Regions from separate parts of the Homo sapiens genome. Here region 1 is linked to region 2. The links are contacts of gene promoters, found by promoter capture Hi-C in blood cells and fetal thymus (Javierre and others, 2016). All regions are on one chromosome and are shown on one strand. The core of a region is centred on a gene start or on the middle of the fragment in contact, and the rest is flanking DNA. Distances in the headings are between cores, read along the strand shown. Region 1 holds the start of SLC7A6 (solute carrier family 7 member 6). Region 2 holds the start of WWP2 (WW domain containing E3 ubiquitin protein ligase 2).

Region 1 (6,343 bases), core at 344-2,843, 1.5 Mb before region 2:
GGCGCGATCTCGGCTTACTGCAACCTCTGCCTCCTGGGTTAAAGCGATTCTCCTGCCTCAGCCTCCTGAGTAGCTGCGATTACAGGCATGTGCCACCACACTCGGCTAATTTTGTATTTTTAGTAGAGACGGGGTTTCTCCATGTTGGTCAGGCTGGTCTCGAACTCCTGACCTCAAGGTGATCTGCCTGCCTCAGCCTCCCAAAGTTGTAGGATTACAGGCGTGAGCCACCAGGCCCGGCTGAGCCGGCATACCTTATATGAAGCTGTGGCAGGGACACGTGGGCTGGGTGCTGACACAAGTGTCCAGAGCTGTCCTTCTGCTCAGCCAGGGAGGCCGGAGGAACTGATCTGGGAGGCAAAGGGTGCAACTCGATTGATCCAAATATATACGTCCACTCACTGACACTTAGGGGAGGGGTTCCAAGCAGAGGGCAGGAGGGCAGCACCAGCGAGGATTCCTCAAGTATTGTCATCCCAGGCCTGCAGAGAGGAGAATGGAAGGGTTTTAGGCAGGGGAGATACAAAGTCATCGCAATCTGTATTCTAGGAGCATCCCCTACTCTGTGGAGATGGGGTAAGGGGAGCAGGATAGGGATTGAGAAGCCGTTGTGGCTGGGGAGAAGAAAACGAGGTATAGGCCGTGGGAGGAGTGGGGAGGAAGGGTCTGAGGTGCTACCCATCTCTGGCTGGGTCCCTGTCACTGGGTGGCAGGGAGCAGGGTCTTGGGTATGGTCTGGAACCAGAGGACGTGTACTTGTGGTCATAAGGCTGGGGGAAAAGATTCCAGGGCCCTGGAGAAAGTCAGTGCTTGAGGTGTGGACAGGAAATTTCGGAGGAGGGCTCAGGCGCCCATGAGGTCAGGAGGCTCTAGACAGAGAGCCCCAGAGCCACCAGAGGAAAAGGAACTCGAGAGAAAGATGGAGGAGCAAACAGAGGGAGGGGAAGGGGGCAGGAGGTGCAGCTCCCCCAAGAGGGGGGGCAGGAGGTGCAGCTCCCCCAAGAGGGGTGGCAGCCCTCTTGGGAAGATGAGGACAGAGCCCCAGGGAGGCCTGGGGTTGGCAAAGGGAGCCTGCAGTTTCTTTGTGGGTGCGGGGGCCTCAAGGGCTACGAGTCTGAGCTGTGCGTGTGTTTGGACAAGTCCCCAGAGTGTGTGTCTTCCTGGGGTTCCTAGACTGCGAGTGGCAGTGGCCCGGCGGCGGAGGCCGTTTGGATCCCTGTGTGAGCTGTAGGGGGCGCCCTGGGCGTCGGGCCCAGGTCAAGTGCGAGATAGGAACGGGGTGCGGGGGCCGATGAGAGCTCCCCGCGGGAATGTCCGCTGTGGACGCCCTCGGAGGCCCCATCTAACTCCAGGGCGGCGAGCGTGGCCGGGCCCAGTTCACGGGCTGCTCGAGCCCTGACGAGGCAGCTGGGGGCTGTCTGGCGTCCACGCTCACGTTCTGGGCCGGCGGACCCCGTACCGGCCAGGCCGTGGCGGCCACGGGGGCCCGGAAGCGCCGCCGCCAGCTGGCCCCGCACGGAACTGTGTCCCGACGCGGCGCGCGCTGTCGCGATCCGGCGGCGGGTGACGTGGCGGGGCGGGGCCTGAGCTGCCGCGGCGGCGGCGGCGCGACCGAGCATCCTGGCGGCGCCGGGCCACTGGGAGGTAACGGGCTGGGCCATGGGCGGGCGCGCCGGGAGCGGGGCCGGGGCTGGGCCGCGTTCTGTGGGAGCCGAACCCTGTGGGTCTTCGCTGCCGCCGTCGGGAGCGGGATGCGGCCCAGAAACAGCGCGGGGCTGGCCGATCGGGGCCGCGCGAGAGGCGCTGCGGGTGAGGGGGGGCGCCACGAGGAGAGAGGGACCTCGAGCGTGAGGGCCGAGTGTGGGAGAAACGCTGTATGGGTGCGAGCCCCGGAGGCTGATGGTGACCGCGAGGGAGCCAGTCTTGGGGTGTGCTGGCGACGCGGCGAGTGTGAGGGAGACCGGGGGTGTGTGTGGAGAGGGAAACCCCAGGTGCGAGGGTGACCGGGACGCTGAGTGCGCGGGCCGCGCCGCGAGCGTGAGACTGTGCGACGGTGACCCTGAGTGGGGCTGTGACTGCGCCTCCGACTGCAGGACGGAGAACCTGTGCTGTGTGGCGGCCGCGGTGGGGCAAAGAAAGACGCGGGCTCAGGACCTCAGGAGCCAGGCTTCCTGGGGCTGTCGCAAGAATGACGATTATCATTTTAAAATCAGTCCTTTTACTTTAGAGAATGCCGCAAGGTTTTGTGGCGTGCTGGAGCCTGGAGCGTTGGGCTGCTGGCGCTGGGGAACCCGCGTGCCCCTGGTGATTATGGCTCTTTTGAGCGTCCCTATAGCCTGTCATCTTGTGTGACTATCTCTCCTGAATGTGGGGAGATAGACGTGAAACATTCTGAAAATTCTTTGCTGGGCTCTAAGCAAACATGTTGTGTAATGGTCAGTATAAATAGGAATCAGGGTGTCGGCGAACACGTTTTTGAGTACCTCTTGTATGCCCTGGGCTTGGTGACACAGTTAAAAAGAATTCAGTCTCTGCCCTTGATAGGGGAAAAAGCCAGGGCAGCTCATCTCGCAGGGCGGCTGTTCAGTGCCCAGCCATCCGGGGCTTGTCTCTCAGAACTGCTCCCAGATTTCAGATCTGGGAGGAGCAGACTTGAAAGGCTGTGAGTACTTCCTTATATCAGTTCCACCTCTTTTTGGTGGCGGTGAGGCCTTTTGGGGACCTGCCCAGGCTGCCTGCATTACTCAGGTCCCATGTGTGCTGCGCAGACGGCTTTTGCTTCCCAACTTTGATCTCAGATCGTTATTCAAGTCGTTACACTGGAGTTTATTTTCCTGGCAAGTGTGTGGAAAACCACCAGCCTGATTTTCTCCTCTCTTCCTCTCCTTGTCCTCCTTCCCTATTTGGCCGTGGATGTATTTTTATTGCATATACCGGTTTTATGATCCCCATCTCCCTGGAACTTCTTAGTAGAAGAAATTTCCTGACCTTTGTGCTTCCTGCTGTAATTTCTTGGATGTATATTAGTTTCTAAAAAAGTTATGCAGGCCGGGCGCGGTGGCTCAGTCCTGTAATCCCAGCACTTTGGGAGGCCGAGGCAGGCGGATCACGGGGTCAGGAGATCGAGACCATCCTGGCTAACATGGTGAAATCCCGTCTCTACTAAAAATACAAAAATTGAGCCAGGTGTGGTGGTGGGCACCTGTAGTCCCACCTACTCGGGAGGCTGAGGCAGGAGAATGGCTTGAACCCGGGAGGCGGAGGTTGCAGTGAGCCAAGATTGCGCCATTGCACTCTAGCCTGGGCAACAGAGCGAGACTCCATCTCCAAAAAAAAAGAAAAAAAGTTATGTAAACGGTGCCCACGGGACCTGGGGCCCCAGAGCTGCCTAGACTTACATGATTTAATGTGACAAGGCCAGTTCTCTGACAGGTTTGGGCTGGCTACTTCAGTTATACCCACCCTGTGGGTGTCATGGAACCTGCTAGTAATTAGGACTGCCCCTGCCGGGCATGTAAAATTTAGATTTTACAAGGAAATATCATTCTGCTGCTTTCTTGGTTAATTAAAAATAATTACATATATATATATATTTAAATCAGCTTTCTCAGGTTAAAAGAGTTCATTTTTTGATCAGTTCCCTCCCACTCTTTGTTGCAGAGTTTATGTGGCCGAGGCAGACAAGTGGAATTAGGCCTTGCTGCAGGGGACTTCATTTCCTTCTCAGTACTGGACCCATTTATGAGGAGGTGGCTTATGAAAGTGTGATGTTCGCGTATTTCTTGACAGGTGAATATTGTTGCGCTGTCTTTTCTTTTGTTTGTGTGATTTACAAAGAGTTTTTACTTGTATACAGTGTGAATACAATACTAGTAAACAGAATGGCTTACACATAATTAACAACTCTTTAGTATTACATATTAAATAACACTGTAATTTATTATAAAAATAAATTATACATTTATTTATATTACAATTCTTTATAAAGAGTAATTGTGGTGGGTTTTTTCTTTTTTTTTGGAGACAGTGTCTCACTCTGTCACCCAGGCTGGGGTGTGGTGGCGCAATCTCTGCTCACTGCAACCTCTGCCTCCTGGATTCAAGCGATTCTCCTGCCTCAGCCTCCCAAGTAGCTGGGATTACAGGCGCCCGCCACCATGCCCAGCTAATTATTGTATTTTTAGTAGAGACGGGGCTTTACCATGTTGGCCAGGCTGGTCACGAACTCCTGAGCTCAGGCAATCTGCCCGTCTCAGCCTCCCAATTGTGGTGGATTTTTTTTTTTTTTTTTTTTTTTTTGAGAAGGAGTTTCGCTCTCATTGCCCTGGCGGAGTGCAATGGTGCGATCTTGGCTCACTGTAACCTCCACCTCCCGGGTTCAAGTGATTCTCATGCCTCAACCTCCCGAGTAACTGGGATTACAGGTGCCCACCACCATGCCCGGACAATTTTTTGTATTTTTAGCAGAGATAGGGTTTCACTATGTTGGCCAGGCTGGTCCCGAACTCCTGACCTCAGGCGATCCACCCGCCTCAGCCTCCCAAAATGCTGGGATTACAGGTGTGAGACACCGCGCCTGGCCATAACTCAGAGAGTTTTATAAGAAAAAGTCCTCTGTGTTTTCACCATAGTTAAGATTTTGATTCAACCAGAGGGGGGAATAAAAAGATTTTGATGTATTTCTCTGTGATATAGCAAAATATTTTTTGGTCTTCAGCCCGTTTCCTAGCATACAACTCCTAAAATACTTAGAAAGATCAAAGTAATGTCTTTTTGTATGCTGATGGCTGGTGGCTGGCAGCCCCTAGAAAGCTTCAGGATGGGGGCTGGTCACTGGAAAGACCAAGTCAGGATTAGAGGGTTGGGACTTTGAGCCCTACCCCCAACCTCCGGGGAGGGGAGAAAGGAGGAGGGTGAGGTTAAGTTGATCACTAATGGCCAGTGGCTTAATCACTCATGCCTATGTAATGAAGCCTCTATAAAAACCCAAGAGGCTGGGGGTTTGGGGAGCTTCCGGATAGCTGGACATGTGGAGGTTCCTGGATGGTACTTCTCCCTGGGAGGACAAGGAAAGTCTGTGACCCTTCCCCCATATGTGGCTCTGCAAACCTCTTCATCTGTATCCTTTGTAATAGCCTTTATAATATACAAGTAAAGGTAAGTAAGTGTTTCTCTGAGTTCTGTGAGCCGCTCTAGCAAATTAATTGAACTGAAAGAGGAGTCTTGGGAGCCCCAACTTGAAACAGTTCGGTCAGAAGTTCAGGAGGCTTGGATTTGTGCCAGGTATCCTGTTGGGGAGGGGCAGTCTTGTGGAACTGAGCCCTTCTGCTGTGGGATCTGATGCTGTCTCCAGGTAGATAGTGTTGGGATTGAACTGGAGGACACTCAGCTGGTGTCCCTGGGGAGAAATGATTGCTTGTTAGTGGGGAACCCTCCCCCTCCGGCATTTGGTCACAGAACTCTTCTGTGTTGATTATTGTGGTGTGAGAGTACACAGTAAAAATGGTTTTGAGTTTTTCCAAACATTCTCAATAGCATTTTTTCCTTTAGTCATTACAAAAATTTTGGTTTCAAATCCACTTTGTAAAACTTCCTTTGTAATCGAGCTTTTCCCCCCTTTCATCCCGTTTTCTGATGTAATTGAATTGTGATAAATTCATTTATTCCAAAAATTGCTTGTGGCAGTTTCGTGGTTAAATTTTCATGGGGAAATTTTGGTAGTCTGTTAAATTCCTTTATTACCTGCTGCAGGAGACTGCAGGAATTTAAAATTTTTAAAAATTTTTTTGTTGGCTGGGTGTGGTGGCTCACGCCTGTAATCCCAGCACTTTGGGAAGCCGAGGCAGGCGGATCACCTGAGGTCCCAGGAGTCCGAGACCAGCCTGACCAATATGGTGAAACCCCGTCTCTACTAAATACAAAAAATTAGCTGGGTGTGGTGGCGCATGCCTGTAATCCCAGCTACTCGGAAAGCTGAGGCAGGAGAATAGCTTGAACCCAGGAGGCGGAGGTTGCAGTGAGCCAAGATCGCGTCATTGCACTCCAGCGTGGGCAACGAGCGAAACTCCGTCTAAAAAAAAAAAGAGCAAAAATACGTATTAAAAAATATTTACCTAGGCTATTTGATATTGCCCCACAGGTTGATGTTCTGTTCTATTTTTTCACTTTCTCCATTTTGACCCTTTTGGTTTTCATCTCACTGCTAAAGTTCCACATTTGTTTCTGCATGCTGTTCAACTTTTTCAGTAGAACCTTAAATGTATCAAACACAATTATTTTAAATTCCTTGTTTGATGTTTCCATTATCTGGGTCATCTCTCAATATGGTCCTATTGATTACTTT
Region 2 (5,462 bases), core at 1,682-4,181:
TGCCCGCCACCACGCCTGGCTAATTTTTGTATTTTTAGTACAGATGGGGTTTCACCATATTGGCCAGATGGTCTCGAACTCCTGATGTACGGTGATCCACCTGCCTTGGCCTCCCAAAGTGCTAGAATTACAGGCGTGAGCCATTGCACCTGGCTCAACCTTTCTCACCACTCAGTCTCTTCATTATCTAGAACGTGCCTGTGCTACCTGCCGTAACAGAGTATGGCTGGAGGCTATTTCTCATTTTCTAGTTTATCATATCAATTTTTTTTTTTTGAGACAGAGTCTCACCCTGTCATCCAGGCTGGAGTCCAGTGTGCAATCTTGGCTCACTGCAACCTCCGCCTCCCAGGTTCAAGCGATTCTCAAGCCTCAGGCTCCTGATTAGCTGGGACTACGGGTGTGTGCCACCATGCCCAGCTAATATTTGTATTTTTTGTAGAGATGGGTTTTCACCATGTTGCCCAGTCTGATCTCGAGCCCCTGACAGTCTGATCTGCCCGCCTTGGCCTCCCAAAGTACTGGGATTACAGGTGCCAGCCACCGCACCCTGTCAGATTTTATTCTTTTAATGTGCAGTGTGTGCTCTTTGCTTGTCCCTTCTCCCCTTTGGTGAACACTTACTCAGATGCCACTAAATCTTTTCTGCAGGGTTGTTAAAAAAAAGCAACAAAAGATAAAAAATGAAATATGAAAGAAGAAAACAAACCGAAACCAACAAATGCTAGTAAGTCAAGGAAATAGTCTCTAATTTATCTAGAACAGAATTAGTAAAACTGCCATCAATGGAACTGGAGAAGTTTTAGTTATAGTAGTTTTATAAATGAGACTAATATAGGGTTTAATGTACAAAGACAGGACTGTATCTCCTTGAAAGTTAATCTCTTGGATTTGGAGTGGTACTACAAAAAGTAGAGACTAAGTGTTCAACCTATTTATTTATTTAGATACAGAGTCTCACTCTGTCGCCCAGGCTGGAGTGCAGAGGCGTTATCATGGCTCACTGCCACCTCCGCCTCCCGGGTTCAAGCAATTCTCCTGCCTCAGGTTCTGGAGTACCTGGGATTACCCGCACCCGGACCATGCCCGGCGAATCTTTTTTTTTTTTTTTTTTGTAGTTTTAGTAGAGATGGGGTTTCACCAGGTTGGCCAAGTGGGTTTCGAACTCCCGACCTCAGGTAATCCACCTGCCTCTGCCTCCCAAAGTGCTGGGATTACAGGCGTGAGCCTCCACGCCCCACCAGCCAATTTAATTTGTATGCATGATAGAATCCATCCCAATTCGAAGACCCAAAAATAACAGATTAGTACAAGTCTTTGAGGCTAATTACGTCATTAGTATTAATTTTAATCAATGGTGATTAAACTGAGCCTTCATTCAACTTGTCCAGAACATCAGTCAAGAATGTCTATTTAAAATGTTCTTGGAGGCCGGGCGCATTGGCTCACGCCTATAATCTGAGCACTTTGGGAGGCCAAGGCAGGTGGATCATCTGAGGTTAGGAGTTTGAGACCAGCCTGGCCAACATGGTGAAACCCCATCTCTATTAAAAATACAAAAATTAGCCAGGCATGGTGGTGGGTGCCTGTAGTCCCAGCTACTCAGGAGGCTGAGGAAGGAGAATTGCTTGAACCTGGGAGGCAGAGGTTGCAGTGAGCCAAGATTGAGCCACTGCACTCCTGCCTGGGCTACAAGAGTGAAACTCTGTCTCAAGCAAGCAAATAAATAAATAAATAAATAAATAAATAAAGTTATTGGGCAGGCACAGTGGCATTCGCCTGTAGTCTCAGCTACTTGGGAGGCTGAAGCAAGAGGACTGCTTGAAGCTGGGAGTTCGAGCCCAGCCAAAGCAACCTATCCAGACCCATCTCTTAAAAAAAATATTTCTCTGCCAGGTGCGGTGGTTCATGCCTGTAATCCCAGCACTTTGGGAGGCCAAGGTGGGCGGATCATTTGAAGTCAGGTGTTCGAGACCAGACTGGTCAACATGGAGGAACCCTGTCTCTACTAAAAATGCAAAAATTAGCCAGGCGTGGTGGTGCACGCCTGTAATCCCAGCTACTCGGGAGGCTGAGGCAGGAGAATTGCATGAACCGGCGAGACGGAGGTTGCAGTCAGCTGAGACTGCACCACTGCACTCCAGCCTGGGCGACAGAGCGAGGCTCCATCTCAAAAAAAAAAAAAAAAATATCATCTATCTATCCACCTACCTACCTACCTACCTACCTGGATTATAATTCATTAAGTTCTCTGTGCCCTGTAGTTGTAGATTAAGGGAATGCGATTGGATTAGTGTGGAGGGGCTTTTTATGGAGCCAAGCAGGAGTTTTTAAGCTTTTGTACTTTTGCTTCATGTCACAAGGACAGATGCCCCACAAAGGCTGAGATGTTTGTGGTCCTGGATCTTAGAACAGTGCCTGGCACATAATAGGCATAAGGTTGCCAGGAAATAGAAATACAGATACTCAATTCAATTTGATCTTCAGATAATCAAAAAATACTTTTTTTAGTATAAATATGTCCCATTCTGTATTTGGGACATACATATTACACTGTTGTTTATCTGAAATTCAAATTTAAGTGGGTGTCCTGTACTTTATCTGGCAACCCTACTAAAGGAGCTCAATTAAGTATTTGCTGACTTAACAGTCTGAAGGTCTCGTTTCACCTGTAAAATGGGGCTAGTACCTGTCCCTGCCTCTATAAGGTTGATGGGCAGAGTAGGTGGCATTCAGTGAGCCCTCAATTTATTTGATTGCCTGGGACCATCCGGTGAGCAGAAACCCTTCCACTTTCAACTACAGAGACGATAAAAAGGCCTCCTCGAGGCCAGAGGTGCCCAGGCCAGGCCTAGGTGGCCCGCACCTGCGAGCCTGGCCAGCCTCTTCCGGGTCAGGTGACCGCGCGCGGTCACGTGACCCGGCCCGAGTGCGGGCGGTGGAAGGCGGAAGTAGGAGAGGAGTTCGGCGCCGCTTCTGTGGCCACGGCAGGTAGCGAGCGCTGGCGCGGGGGGCGCGGTGGGCTGGCTGCCTGCACGGGGCGGGCCGGGGGCGGCGGGCGGCGCGGGGTGGGCCGGGGGCGGCGCGGCCCGGGCGTCGGGGGGCGGCGGCTTCCTGTGGGAGGGGCCTGGCGCGGCGGTTCCGGCCTCCGAGGAGGGGTGTCCCGGCTCCCGCCCGAGTGGGGTGGGCGCGCCGCGGCCCGCGCGGGGGTTGCTCCGAAATGGGTGCCCCGGCCGCCAAGGGTGCAGCTGGAGCGAGTCCTCCCGGAAGGGGAGAGGAGCTTAGGTTCCCAGGCATGGAGAGGAGCGATCTTTGTGGAGGGATCGGGACCAGGGGAAGGGGCGACTTGGAACTGAGCTGGAAGGGGGTGCCTGAAAATGGGTTTATGGCGTGGAGCCAGAGGGAAAAAGATGCTGCCTGGACCCCCTCTGAGAGTCTCTCCCTTCCTTCCTGTTTGGAAATGATTGTTACCCGAGACTTTGATGACGGTCCCATTCAGTTTTTAAACTTCAGGAGGGATCACAGAATCTTGATCGTCTTGCTTCCCTCGCGCCCACTTAGTCCTGCGTGGGTAGGGTTTCCACTTCTTGGGAGCCTAGCCCTTCAGCTCATTTTTCTTTGAGATTTTCCCTGAACGGGCCATCATCGAGGCTTTAAAAAACAAAAAAAGAAAATAAATTAAAAAAATAAGTGTGGGCACTTTGCCTGTAAAATGGCTTTTAGCTTACACTGTTGACCTAGCCCAGCGTTACCTCAGCAACATAGTGACTGCTGAAATCTTGGACAGAGAAGTGTCTACCTAGACTGCTTTATGACTTTTCTCTTTCTTCCGTTTAAATTATTCAGTTTCCCTTAGCTTATCTTGTGACTGCTTATCTTGACGAACTGTAACTAGGTAGGGTGCCTGAGAGGTCTGTGTTATGTTCCTTAGAACTGTGACCTGGATCATGATTTTGAGATTGAATACTTGTGTTAAAGCCTGTTCATCTTCCTGTTTCTCATGTTTACTAAAATTTGCAGAAGCAAAAGGAGTTTCATGAGTGCAGTGTAACTGGAACGAATGTTCAAACTGGACATTCACAGCAGCCAGCATCGTTTTGGGTTACAAGTAGGAAAAAGTACTTTCCTAATGTATTATGAGTTCAAGTTTTTGGAGTTATTTGACAAACATTTAAAAATTAGTTTTTGCAGCAGCGCCTATGAGTGAGGTTGGGAAGATGTATTCTCATTTCACAGGGAACAAACAGACTTACGAGAGACGACTTGATTTTTTAAAACAATTTATTGCTCTTTCTTGTTTGCTGGCCTCTTCCTGCTAGATTGCAAATCCTTCAAGGGCAGGTTTCATATTTTATTTGGCTGCTAGCCTAGTGCCTGGCATGTTGTGAGCACTTGATAAATATTTGGTGAATAAATGCATTTCTAAAAGTCACACCGGCGTAAGTGGTGACAAAGGATTTGAACCCAAGTCTTCTACTCTTTTTCTTGTCAGAGAAGCTTGTGATTATCTGTGTCATTGGTCCATATGAAAACAGGCTCGAGAGAAAGGCTTGGATTGGCTTCTCAGTCTCTTTCACTTCATGATTACTTTCCCATTTACAAAGAGCGTATACCAACATCTCACTTAACCTTCCCTTTGAAATTGGGATGGTCAGTATTGTCCCTATATCACATGAAGAGACTGAGGCTTAATGAAGTCCTTACTTTAGATTTCAGAGCTAGTAAATGAGTAGGGACTCAAGCCCAGACCCTTAATCCTTAGATCCATTCTTTTTCATTTATTGACACAATAGAAAATTTTATTTTTATTTTATTTTGAGACAGGATCTTACTCTGTTGCCCAGGCTGGAGTGCAGTGGCACAATCACGGCTCACTGTAACCTTGACCTGCCTGGGCTCGGGTGATCCTCCCATGTCTGCCTCCCAAACAGCTGGGACTACAGGTGGGTGCCACCTCGCCTGGCTAATTTTTGTAGAGACAGGGGTTTTGCTATGTTGCCCGGGCTGTTTTCAAACTCCGGGGCTCAAGCGATCCTCCCACCTCGGCCTCTCAAAGTGTTGCAATTACAGGTGTAAGTCACCATGCCCAACTGAAAGTTTTATTTTTACATAATTTTTCAGGAATAAAAAGTGTAACATTTTAAGGAAAAAGATCACACAGAAAAAGTTGTGAATGTAGAATGTGAGTAAATGAAGTTTAGAAAACGCTGTACTCTACCATAGCTTCCTCTTCCTGGGAAAACATTCTTTCATTCAGTGAATATTTATAAGTACCCACTCTGTCTTTGCCAGGCATTGTTGTAGAGTCCAGTATGGTGTACACTAGCCACATGGGGCTGCTGAGCACTGGAGCTATGCTGTGAGCATAAAATACATTCTGGATTTTGAAGACTTAGCATGAAGAAAAGTAAAATGTCTCATTGATACTTTTTATGTTATAGTAAACGATCATATAATGTATA

The links. The method cuts DNA at HindIII sites, captures the fragments that hold promoters and counts their contacts. A CHiCAGO score of 5 or more calls a contact.
Region 1: the fragment with the promoter of SLC7A6 here is called in contact with the fragment with the promoter of WWP2 in region 2 in 1 of 17 cell types (neutrophils); the score reaches 6.2 in neutrophils.

Annotation. Positions count from the first base shown.
Region 1 is chr16:68,262,933-68,269,275 of GRCh38, forward strand. SLC7A6 (solute carrier family 7 member 6) reads left to right here and starts at 1,594. Exons shown (of 11, transcript NM_003983.6): 1 at 1,594-1,644; 2 at 3,661-3,789. It overlaps LOC124903704 (a long non-coding RNA gene), which reads right to left and starts at 1,525. Exons shown (of 3, transcript XR_007065096.1): 1 at 1,436-1,525; 2 at 255-482. RefSeq lists a silencer at 1,480-1,759 and an enhancer at 2,132-3,331. The HindIII fragment of the contact is 19,556 bases long and covers 1-4,810 here.
Region 2 is chr16:69,759,401-69,764,862 of GRCh38, forward strand. WWP2 (WW domain containing E3 ubiquitin protein ligase 2) reads left to right here and starts at 2,932. Exons shown (of 24, transcript NM_001270454.2): 1 at 2,932-2,991. RefSeq lists an enhancer at 2,737-3,315 and silencers at 3,019-3,158, 3,179-3,338, 3,359-3,408. The HindIII fragment of the contact is 2,162 bases long and covers 2,334-4,495 here.